2 separate regions of the Homo sapiens genome follow, and region 2 is linked to region 1. The links are contacts of gene promoters, found by promoter capture Hi-C in human tissues and cell types (Jung and others, 2019). All regions are on one chromosome and are shown on one strand. The core of a region is centred on a gene start or on the middle of the fragment in contact, and the rest is flanking DNA. Distances in the headings are between cores, read along the strand shown.

Evidence for each region. Contacts are between HindIII fragments. The study calls those that stand out against the background at their distance.
Region 2: a fragment that was not itself captured here is called in contact with the fragment with the promoter of ZNF699 in region 1 in 1 of the 25 tissues and cell types used here (H1 embryonic stem cells).

What each region holds. Positions count from the first base shown.
Region 1 is chr19:9,307,464-9,313,523 of GRCh38, forward strand. ZNF699 (zinc finger protein 699) reads right to left here and starts at 2,375. Exons shown (of 6, transcript NM_198535.3): 1 at 1,887-2,375. RefSeq lists silencers at 2,045-2,294, 4,650-4,944 and an enhancer at 2,355-2,474. The HindIII fragment of the contact is 17,114 bases long and covers 1-6,060 here.
Region 2 is chr19:9,118,555-9,124,614 of GRCh38, forward strand. It overlaps the pseudogene OR7G15P. Among named protein-coding and RNA genes, the nearest start is that of OR7G3, 5.4 kb to the right of the region's middle. The HindIII fragment of the contact is 3,758 bases long and covers 1,988-5,745 here.

The DNA.
Region 1 (6,060 bases), core at 1,125-3,624:
CTATATAAAAAATGTAGCACATTATAGGGATAAGGAGACACGTAACATATTTATCTTTAGCAAGTCAGGACAGGTAATGTGGCAGGGTAGAAGCAGAAAATTAAAATAACTATTTCAGATCATGCTGGAATTTCAGAGGGTTTAGTATATCTATTATATATTTATAAGCATTATCAACTCCTAGAGGAAAAAAAATCAGTACTGGCCAGGCACGGTGGCTCACACCTGTAATCCCAGCACTTTGGGAGGCCAAGGTGGGTGGATCACAAGGTCAGGAGTTCAAGACCAGCCTGGCCAAGATGGTGAAACCCACCTCTACTAAAAATACAAAAAAATTAGCTGGGCATGGTGGCAGGTGCCTGTAATCGCCACTACTTGGGAGGCTGAGGCAGAGAATTGTTTGAACCCAGGAGGCAGAGGTTGCAGTGAGCCAAGATCACGCCACTGCACTCCAGCCTGGGAGACACAGCGAGACTCTGTCTCAAAAAAAAAAAAAAAAATCGGTATTAATAGGCTAGACTATTGATATATAAAGTTGAATAAAGACCAGCATAAAAGTTTAGAAAGAAAATAGAAAATAATCTTTTTTAAAACATAGTAAACAAAATCAGAAAAGCTAAAAAAGCATCCTTTGCAAAAAGAAAAACTAATGAAACTGACAAACTCAGCTTTTTAAAAAAATTTTTTAATTTAATTTATTGTTTAAGACAGACTCTTTATGTTCCCAGGTTGATCTCATTTCCTAGGCTCAAGCGATCCATCTGCCTTAGCTTCCCACCAGCTGGGACTACAGATATGCGCCACTGCAGCCAGCAACAGACTCAGCAATTTTAAGAGCAACAGGGCATAAACAACAACAACAAAAAAAAAATGAACAAGAATTAATCATAATTACAGATATCATAAGGAGAATATAGAAAAAATTTAAGGAATAAATATGAAGATGCACAGGTAATTAATGAATTTCTAGAAAGTAGTACAACTTTCAAGCAGTGATCTAAAACCTGATTACACCCAGTAATTAAAGAAAAAAAAATCAGCGGTTTAAAACACGGTCAGGCCGGGTGCAGTGGCTCATGCCTGTAATTCCAGCACTTTGGGAGGCGGAGAGCCCATGAGTTCGAGACCTGCCCGGGCAACAGAGCGAGACTCCTATTTTCTAAAAAGAAATAGGAATAAAGAAAGGAAAAAAACCTACAAACACCTACAGCAAACATCCTATTTAATGGTGAAATGATAGAATAATTCCCTCTGGAATCAGAAACAAGACAGGATGTAAATTACATGCTATTCTGTCGGACATTGTACTGGAGGTCCTGGCAAGTGCAGTAAAGAAATGAAAAGAAATGGAAACTGCAAGGAATAAAAAGGGAAAAGATTGAAACTGACAGATGACCAAATTTTCTGTGTGAAATTTAACCAATCTATAGACAAATGATTCAAATGCATCATTAATGACAAAATGCATCAGTTCACTTTCACTTGAATATAATGTATCAAACTGATGTCCACAGGCAGAATATAATATCCAGAGACCAAATACTATCTTTTTGTTTTTTTGAGACAGTGTCTCGCTCTGTTGCCCAGGCTGGAGTGCAGTGATGCGATCTCAGCTCACTGCAACCTCTGCCTCCCGAGTAGCTGGGAACACAGGAGAGCACCTTTTATTTTACTTTTTTTTTTTTTTTTTTTTTTGGTAGAGACGGGATCTTGCTATGTTGCCCAGGCTGGCCTCAAACTCCTGGGCTCAAGCGATCCGCCCGCCTCGGCCGCCCAAAGTGCTGGGATTACAGGCGTGAACCACCGCGCTTGGCCCAAACACTACCTAATGCATAAAGAGGGGACAGGAGGGGACCGAGCCGAGGCAAATGTCACCCCGTGCTCACCCGACACGCCGCGATCCACAGATCAGCTCACAGAGAACGAGGCTGAAGCGCTTGTCCTTGAGACACGAATGGCAGAGATGCTCTTCCTTTCTGGAAAGAGAGCAAAGGATGCTTTCGGAGGCTGATGAACTACGACATTGGTTCTCCAACTCTCGCCTGCATCAGAATCACCCCGATTTCTGTACCCAGACCAGAGTTCCCGATTCAGTGAGTTTGGGACCAGCCGCGGCCACAGGGGCAGCTGACCCGGGCTCTCTGAGGAGGCGCCGCGGCGGCGGGAGGCCCCGGGCGCGGGGTCCGGACAAGGAGTGGCGGGGAGGCAGCCCTTAGACCGCCGATTCCCAAACCCAGCCCTCGGTCTCCCGCGGACCCGACCCGGGGCAGGCAGGGCGGGGCGGGGCAGGGCAGGACAGGAAGCGGGCGGAGGCAAAAATGTTCCTCAGACGCGGGCGGAGGCGTAGGGTGACAAGGCTGTCGACTCGCGCATGCGCAGAAGCACACTTCTGATTCCTCTTTCGGCGCTGCAAATGGCGTATGGGGCGGGGCCTGGGAAGCGGGACTTGAGGTGAAGGGGGTGGAGCAGGTAGGAGCGGGATGCAAAGGAGCGCCAAGGCTGGTTCCAGCCGCAAGTGGATGAGAAATCCTAGTTTCTTCATGATTTGGAGTAAACAGAGAAGAAACAGAACCCTGAACTGGACTTGCATGACTCGGCCTGAGGGGCGGAACTGGGGCTAGACCTAGGGGCGTGGCCTTTTAAATACTCCAAGGGGCGGGGCTAAAGGTGGAACCAGATTGGGAGCGGGGCTTGGTAGAAATTCCTAGGGGGCGGAGACGAGGGCTGGGCGGGGCTTAAGTGACAAGGCCTAGGGATGGGGCTAAGGCTAGGGCTTCCCATCCAGGTTCTCAGCTACCACGGATACAGGATGCTCATCGATCGGGTTTCTACCTATCCTCCACGTTGCTACAGTCCTGTACACAGGACACATATATTTGCAGCTCTAATAGGAAACAGACTCTCCTTGACACTCACTCAGTCCTTTTGGGCCTTTTAGTTTTCCCTTTCATTGTTGTATTGATAACTTCTCCTGTAGAGGGAAGCCATTGATAATTATTTAAATAGAACCTTTTTCCTGGAAACTTGCTGAATTCTGATAGCTGTCAGTTTATTATTTGAACCATCAAATATAAATATTTTCTCTGCATATTTTCATTGTTTTAATGTGTATAACTCATTTCTTTATGTGAGGCAATGTCTCATTCTATCGCCTAGACTGGAGTGCAGTGGCGCGACCATGGCTCACTGCAGCCTTGACTTCCCCAGCTCAAGTGATGGTCCCATCTCAGCCCCCCAAGTAGCTGAGAATACAGTCGCGTACCACCCCACCCAGCTATTTTCTTTATTTTTTTGTAGAGATGGGATCGCACTATGTTGCTGAAGCTGGTCTCAAACTCCTGAGCTCAAGCTATCCTCTCACCTCAGCCTCCCAGAGTGCTAGGGGTACAGGTGTAAGCCACCACACCCAGAGTCATTTCTTTTTCTTATTGTTTGTTTAGGGCTTCCTCAACTATAAGTCGGAAAGAAATTAAGCATTCTTGTCTTGGTCGGTAATGATTACCAAAGTTCCTCAGTAAGCTGTTTACAACAGGTTGCACCTCTTATCAAGTTAATCTTTTTAAACCAGGTTTATAAAGATATTTTATCAATAATTTTTTATGAACACTATCAAATGTTTATGCAACAATTGAGTTGATAACATAATTTTGCTCCTCTTAGTTTATAATATGATATCCATATAAAATATTTAATTTTAGGCAAGGCGCAGTGGCTCATGCCTGTAATCCCAGCACTTTGGGAGGCCGAGGCCGGTGGATTACCTGAGGTCAGGTGTTCAAGACCAGCCTGGCTACCATGGTGAAACCCCATCTCTACTAAAAATACAAAAAATTAGCTGGGCATGGTGGCGGGTGCCTGTAATCCCAGCTACTCAGGAGGCTGAGGCAAGGAGAATCGCTTGAACCTGGGAGGCAGAGGTTGCAGTGAGCTGAGATCGCGCCATTGCACTCCAGCCTGGGCGACAATAGAAAGACTCCATCTCAAAAATATATATATTCAATTTTATATATCCCCAATGAATCTATACTTTTAGTAAAATGGTTTCTGAGTTTCCTAGTTTGCTTTTAAATGTCTCCCCAAACTCTAAAATATAAAAATACTTCCTAATTTACTTCCAAATTGTACTGCTTTTTAAAACGTATAATTCTTTACTGCTCAGGGAATGTATTTTGGTATAATATGAGGTAGAGATGTGTTATATAAGTGAACCACAGGTGGCCTTTCTGTATTGGTCCCTAGGTTGTTCATTACTTCTTCACTGCGGCTTGAGGTCACCTTCCCAATGCCTGTCCCTGGTGCCCTAGCCAGCTCCCTTTCATCATCTATGTTTTTTAAGTGTAAATCTTTTTCTATTATGAAGCATTATGTTCTCATTGTAGTTTTTTATTTTAAAGGAAAAGTATAAGGAAAAGACAAACAACATTCAGAATCCCAGCAGTGTTTGAATTTTCTGTATTTCCTTTCTGCCTTCTTTGTACGCGTGGGTGGCAAGCCACCCAGGTGCCAAGGCAAGAGACCGAGGGCACAAGCTGTTCCAGTATAATAAAGAAAATATATAGAATAAGAGTAGTTATACTAGAAATAGATTATAGATATGATTGTATATATCATTAATCATTTGTAGCATTACTCTTTATTCCAATATTATAATAATCTTTGTTCTACAATCATAACCTAGGAAAAACCAGGCCATACAGAGATAGGAGCTGAAGGGACATGGTGAGAAGTGACCAGAAGACAAGGGTGAGCCCTCTGTTATGCCTGGACAGAGCCACCAGAGGGCTCCCTGGTCTAGCGGTAATGCCAGCCCCTGGGAAGGAGCCCGTTACCTAGCGGACCTTGGTCTAGCAGTAGCGTCAGTGCCTGGGGAAGGCACCCATTGCTTAGCAGACAGGGAAAGGGAGTCTCCCTTTCCCCGGGGGAGTTAGAGAAGACTCTGCTCACTACCTCTTGCGGAAAGCCTGACATCAGTCAGGCCCGCCCGCAGCCATCCAGAGGCCTAAACGTCTCCCTGTGATGCCGTGCTTCAGTGGTCACACTCCTGGTCCACTTTCATGTTCCACCCTGTACACCTGGTTCTGCCTTCTAATCAGCAGTAGCGGAATTAGTGAAAGTACTAAAGTCTTTGAAATGCATAGAAGAAATAATGGCGTAAGCTGTCCTCTCTCTCTCTCCACCTCAGCTGCCAAACAGGGAAGGGCCCCCTGTCTGGTGGACACGTGACTCGCGTGACCTTACCTATCATTGGAGATGGCTCACACTCCTTACCCTCCCTCCTTGTCTTGTATCCAATAAATAACAGTGCAGCCAGGCATTCGGGGCCGCTACTGGTCTCTGCACCTTGGTGGTAGTGGTTCCCCGGACCCAGCTGTCTTTTTGTCTATCTCTTTGTCTTGTGTCTTTATTTCTATGATCTCTTGTCTCCACACACGAAGAGAAAAACCCACAGACCCAGTAGGGCTGCTTCCTACAGTACGCATAACAGTAGGTTTTTTTATTGTTTGTTTGTTTTTGACTCAGTCTCGCTCTGTCGCCCAGGCCGGAGTGCAGTGGTGCAATCTCAGCTCATTGCAACCTTCACCTCCTGGGTTCAAACAATCCTCCTGCCTCAGCCTCCCGAGTAGCTGGGATTACAGGCATGTGCCACAACACCCGGCTAATTCTGTATTTTTAGTAGAGATGGAGTTTCTCCATGTTGGTCAGGCTGGTCTCGAACTCCTGACCTCAGGTGATCCACCTGCCTTGACCTCCCAAAGTGCTGGGATTACAGGTGTGAGCCACCATGCCCGGCCAATCAGAAGTAATTTCAATTTTTCATCTGCCATGCAAAAAAGGTGAGGGATTGCAAAGGCAATAGCCTCTGGTCCTTTTGTTACTTGGGCATGGAAAGTGGGGTTTCCTTTTGATCTAGTTCTAGAAAGTCAGCGTGATTGGCCTTAGGTTCCCTTCCTCTAGACCCTATTCTACCTCAACACTGAAACTTGGAAAGGAAGCTTCTTCCTCCTTCCTTGTCTTCCAGCACCCTACACTGGTAATGGGTAAAAGAGAAATATTTATAAG
Region 2 (6,060 bases), core at 2,617-5,116, 190 kb before region 1:
CAAGAGGAAAATCAGCACAGACATGGAGCCATCTTCCCGAGGCTTGCATGAATCCCCACACTACTGCTCCCATGCATTTCTTACCCCTGAAGTTCTTGTCATAAAAAATAACTCTGTTTCTTATTCATGTAAATTATAGTCAGAGTTTCTTTCTCTTATAAGAAATAAAAGCTTCTGGCTGGGCACAGTGGCTCATGAATGCGGTGGTCACTGGTACATTGTAGTCTCTGCCTCCCTAGCGGCTCAATTGCCAAAGCTCCTCATTAGCCAAGGAATTTGTGTTGGCACTGTAATCCCAGGGTGCTTAAATCCTTGCAGAACAAGGGAGAAATTCAGGATGGCTGCTGTCCTGACCCTAGAGGCCAAGTGTACATCATCCACTTTTCTTTTTTTCTTTCTTTTTTTTTTTTTTTGAGATGGAGTCTTGCTCTTTCACCCAGCCTGGAGTGCAGTGGCGCAATCTCGGCTCACTGCAACCTCTGCCTCCTGGGTTCAAGCGATTCTCCTGCCTCAGCCTCCCAAGTAGCTGGGATTACAGGCGCCTGCCACCACTCCCAGCTAATTTTTGTATTTTTAGTAGAGATGGGATTTCACCATGTTTGTTAGGCTGGTCTGGAACTCCTGACCTCAGGGGATCCACCCACCTCTGCCTCCCAAAGTGTTGGGATTATAGGCATGAGCCACCATGCCCAGTCTATTTTATTTTTTTAATTTTTATTTTAATTCAGGGGCACATATGCAAGTTTGTACATAGGCAAACTTGTGTCATGGGAGTTTGTTGTACCAATTATTTCATTACCCAGGTATTGAGCCTGGTACCCATTAGTTATTTTTCCTGATCCCTGCCTCCTCCAGCCCTTCACCCTTCAATAGGCCACAGTGTATGTTTTTCCCCTCTATGTGTCCATATGTTCTCATCATTTAGCTCCCACTTATAAGTGAGAACACGTGGTCTTTGGTTTTCTGTTCCTACACTAGTTTGCTAAGGATAATGGCATCCAGCTCCATCCATTTTCCTGCAAAGAACATGATCTCATTCTTTTTTATGGCTGCATAGTATTCTATGGTGTGTATGTACCACATTTTCTTTATCCATTCTATCAGTGATGGGCATTTAGATTGATTCCATGTCTTTGCTATTGTGAATAGTGCTGCAATGAACATAATGTGTGCTTGTGTCTTTATAGTACAATGATTCATATTCCTTTGGGTACATACCCAGTAATGGGATTGCTGGGTCTAATGGTATTCTGTCTTTAGGTCTCTGAGGAATTCCCACACTGCCTTCCACAATGGTTGAACTAATTTACACTCCCACTGACAGTGTATAAGTGTTCCTTTTTCTCCACAGCCTTGCCAGCATCTGTTATTTTTTGGCTTTTTAGTAATAGCCATTCTGATTGATGTGAGATGATATCTCACTGTGGTTTTGATTTGCATTTCCCTAATGATCAGTGATATTGAGCTTTTTTTTATATGATTGTTGGCCGCCTATATGTCTTCTTTTGAAAAATGTCTGTTCATGTTCTTTGCTCACTTTTTAAATGGTTTTTTTTTCTTGTAAATTGGTTTAAGTTCCTTAAAGATGCTGGATATTAGACCTTCATCAGATGGATAGATTGCAAAAATTTTCTCCCATTCTGTAGGTTGTTTGTTCACTGTGATGATAGTTTCTTTCGCTGTTTAGAAGCTCTCTAGTTTAATTAGATCCCATTTGCCAATTTTTGCTTTTGTTGCAGTTGCTTTTGGTGTCTTCATCATGAAATCTTTGCTCGTGCCTATGTTCTAAATGGTATTACCTAGGTTGTCTTCTGGGGTATTTATAGTTTTGGGTTTTACATTTAAGTCTTTAATCTGTCTTAAGTTAATTTTTGTATATAATTTAAGGAAGGGGTACAGTTTCAATCTTCTGCATATGGCTAGCCAGTTATCCCAGCACCATTGATTGAGTAGGGAATCCTTTTCCCATTGCTTGTTTTTGTCAGGTTTGTCAAAGATCAGATAGTTGAAGGTGTGCGGTCTTATTTCTGGGTTCTCTATTCCGTTCCATTGGTCTATTTGTCTGTTCTTGTACAAGAACCATGCTGTTTTGATTACTGTAGCCCTGTAGTGTAGTTTGGAGTCAGATAGTGTGATGCCTCCAGCTTTGTTCCTTTTGCATAGGGTTATCTTGGCTATTCAGGATTTTTAAAAAACAGTTATTTCTAGAAATCATTTTAAAAGAGAGTAAAATCTTTTTCTGGAGGTGTGTAAGCTACTTCAGTTGCTTCTTGGATGTGAGCCTTTGGTTGTAGCTATTTTTTGATAAATTTTCTCTGTTTTTTTCTTGGTTGTTACTGGCACTACTATTACATGAATATTTATGATTATGTCACACTAAAATATGTCTTTGAACCAGAAATTAATAAAAGTTTTCTCATCTTATTGCTTTATCACATTGAAAGTCACAAAAATTAGTTTTATTTCTATTTCTGGTTCTCCAGCCTGGGCAACACAGCAAGATTGTGTCTCTAAAACCAAAATAAAGAAAAAATTGAAATGTTCAGAGACTCAGAAAGGGAAAAGTCATGAGGCAAGTGTTCAGATACCACCTTGGGGAAAGTTTGCTGACTCTGTGGAAAGTGAGCAGGAAATGAAGTAGCGTTAAGGGTAGAATGTGTTGTCCCAGGGTTGATAAGAAATGTGGTGGTGGTCGGCCTGGTGACTCAGGCCTGTAATCCCAGCACGTTGGGAGGCCGAGGCGGGAGAATCTCTTGATCCCAGGAGTTCGAGATCACCCTGGCCAACATGGCGAAACCCCGTCTCTACTAAAAATAGAAAAAAATTAGCTGGGCGTGGTGATGCTTGCCTGTAATCCTTGTTACTCCGGAGACTGAAGCATGAGAATTGCTTGAACCTAGGAGGCGGAGGCTACAGTGAGCCGAGACTGCACCACTGCACTCCAGCCTGGGTGACAGAACAGACTCTGTCTCAAAAAAAAAAAAAAAAGAAAGAAAGAAAAAGAAAAAGAAAAAGAGAAAAACTGAGCTTGGAGAATGGAACTAATTTTTTTTTATTATTTATTTTTAATTTTTATTTATTTATTTATTTATTTTGAGACGGAGTCTCGCTCTGTCGCCCAGGCTGGAGTGCAGTGCGGCATCTCAGGTCACTGCAAGCTCCGCCTCCTGGGTTCACGCCATTCACCCGCTTCAGCCTCCCAAGTAGCTGGGACTACGGGTGCCCGCCACCACGCCCGGCTAATTTTTTGTATTCTTATTCGAGACGGGGTTTCACCGTGTTAGCCAGGATGGTCTCGATCTCCTGACCTCGTGATCCTCCCGCCTCGGCCTCCCAAAGTGCTGGGATTACAGACGTGAGCCACCGCGCCCGGCCGTGGAACTCGTTTTCGTACAATCACAGAGCTACACACAAAGAACAAGTGATGTTTCAACCCCAAGTTAAAATGTACTTACCCACTATGTTATCTAATCATTTTAGAAAACTCAGTGATAGATCAGTCAGGCATTCTGGCTCACCAGTATTTCTGTGTCTTTGACCCACTTTGAATCCCAAGTCCAAAGTGGACAACATAATCAGGAAGAGAAGTTATCCTACCAATGAGTTTCCCCGAGGCTCTCTTCATATCTCTGTTCCTCAGGCTGTAGATAAAGGGGTTCATAATAGGTGTGACCACTGTGTACATCACTGAAGCCACCGCAGCCCTCCTTGAAGAGTCAGAAACGGCAGAGCTAATGTACACCCCCCAACCCGCCCTGTAGAATCGGGAAACAAATGGGAGGTGAGACTCACAGCTGAAAAAAGCTTTATTACTTGCTGACGGCATTCTCAAAACAGACAAGGCTATTTGAGAATAAGAAAACATGACCCCAGAGAGAAGAATATCACCAAATATGCAAGTTGCAAAATAGACCAGAAAGTTATTTTTATTTATTTATTTTTATTGTTTTTTTTTTTTTTTTTTTGAGTCGGAGTCTCCCTCTGTCACCCAAGCTGGAGTGCAGTGGCATGATCTCGGCTCACTGCAACCTCCGCCTCCCAGGTTCAAGTGATTCTCCTGCCTCAGCCTCCTGAGTAGCTGGGACTACAAGCAAGCGTCACCACACCCGGATAATTTTTGTATTTTTAGTAGAGACAGTGTTTCACCATGTTGGGCAGGCTGGTCTTGAACTCCTAACCTCGTGATCCACCCGCCTCGGCCTCCCAAAGTGCTGGGATTACAGGCATCAGCCACCGTGCCTGACTGCAGTAGCCATTATTTTATTCTGATTTTATGAGATCAGCTCTTTTGGATTCTACACATGGTTGAGATCATGCAGTATTTGTCTTTCTGTACCTGGCTTATTTCACTTAGCATAATGTTCTCCAGGTTCCTCCATGTTGTGGCGAATGACAGAATTTCCTTCTTTTTAAAGGGTGCATAGTACTCTATCATATACCACATTTTCTTTTTCTTTTCCAGACAAAGTCTCACTCTGTTGCCCAGGCTAGAGTGCAGTGGTGCGATCTCGGCTCACTGCAACCTCCGCCTCCTGGGTTCAAGTGATTCTCCTGCCTCAGCCTCCTGAGTAGCTGGGATTACAGGCATACGTCATCATGCCTGGCTAATTTTTGTATTTTTAGTGGAGACACGGTTTCACCATGTTGGCCAGGCTAGTCTTGAACTCCTGACCTCAAGTAATCTACCTACCTCAGGCTCCCAAAGTGCTGGGATTACAGGCGTGAGCCACCGTGCCTGCCATACCACATTTTCTTTATCCACTTATATGTTGATGGACATTCAGGTTGATTACATTTCCTGGCTATTGTGACTAATACTGCAATGAACATGAGAGTGCAGATATCTCTTCAGCATATTGATTTCAATTCCTTTGAAATTCAACAGCACAAACATAAATCAATATAACTATAGATAGTCAACCTAAATAACAGAAAGAGGCTATCTAAAAGAAAATGATGTTTATTGCCAAAGAAAGCATTGCAATAGCGATACGCGTGCCATCATAAACTATGTATGCATTCAAGGAGGTAAAGGAAGACAAAGTTTTTTAATGGAAAAATGAGGAAGGTTACATAATTGTTTTGAAATAATTATCCTTCACAGTAATAACTAATAACAAGGGTGATGCCAGTCTGAAGCTGGACAGGCAGTTGCTGGGCAGATGTACTTGCAGAAATATTTTTTGTGTAAGGTTGCAACAGCCTTTTGTGCAAGGTTGTGGTTTTTGTCGTCTCGTGATAGTTTTTGTCGTCTCGTGATAGTTTTTGTAGTCTTGTGATAGTTTTTGTTATTAGGCATGCAAGTGAAATAAATCTCTTCATGGCCTTCCCTAGCTTTACTTGTCAGGATGTTTTTGTTTTTTTCATTTTTGTTTGTTTGTTTGTTTTTCATGAGATGGAGTCTTGCTCTGTCGCCCAGGCTGGAATGCAGTGGTGCGATCTTGGCTCACTGCAACCTCCGCCTCCCAGGTTCAAGCGATTCTCATGCCTCAGCCTCCTGAGTAGCTGGGATTACAGATATGCGCCACAACGTCTGGCTAATTTTTGTATTTTTCATAGAGATGGGGTTTCACCATGTTGGCCAGGCTGGTCTCGAACTCCTGACCTTGTGATCCGCCCACTTCAGCCTATCAAAGTGCAGACTTTTTTGATAGCCGCTACACCCAGCCTTTTTTTTTTTTAATAAGTGACTCCATTTTGATTCTGACAATTTTAACAATATATATACCAAGTACAGTCAGCCTTCCATATCTGCCAGTACCACATTCATGGACTCAACCAACTGTGGATCAAAAATATTAAAAATATTAAAGAAAATTTTAAAAATATTAAATAAGAATATTACAAAAATACAATATTAAGTAATACAACTATTTACATAGGATTAACATTATGCTAGGTAATATAAGTAATCTAGAAATGATTTAAAGTATAGGCGACCTGGGCACAGTGGCTCACACTGCTTAATCCCAGCACTTTGGAAGGCTGAGGCAGAAGGATTGTTTGAGGCCAGGAGTTTGAGGCTGCAGTGAGTTATAATCACACCACTGTAGTTCAACC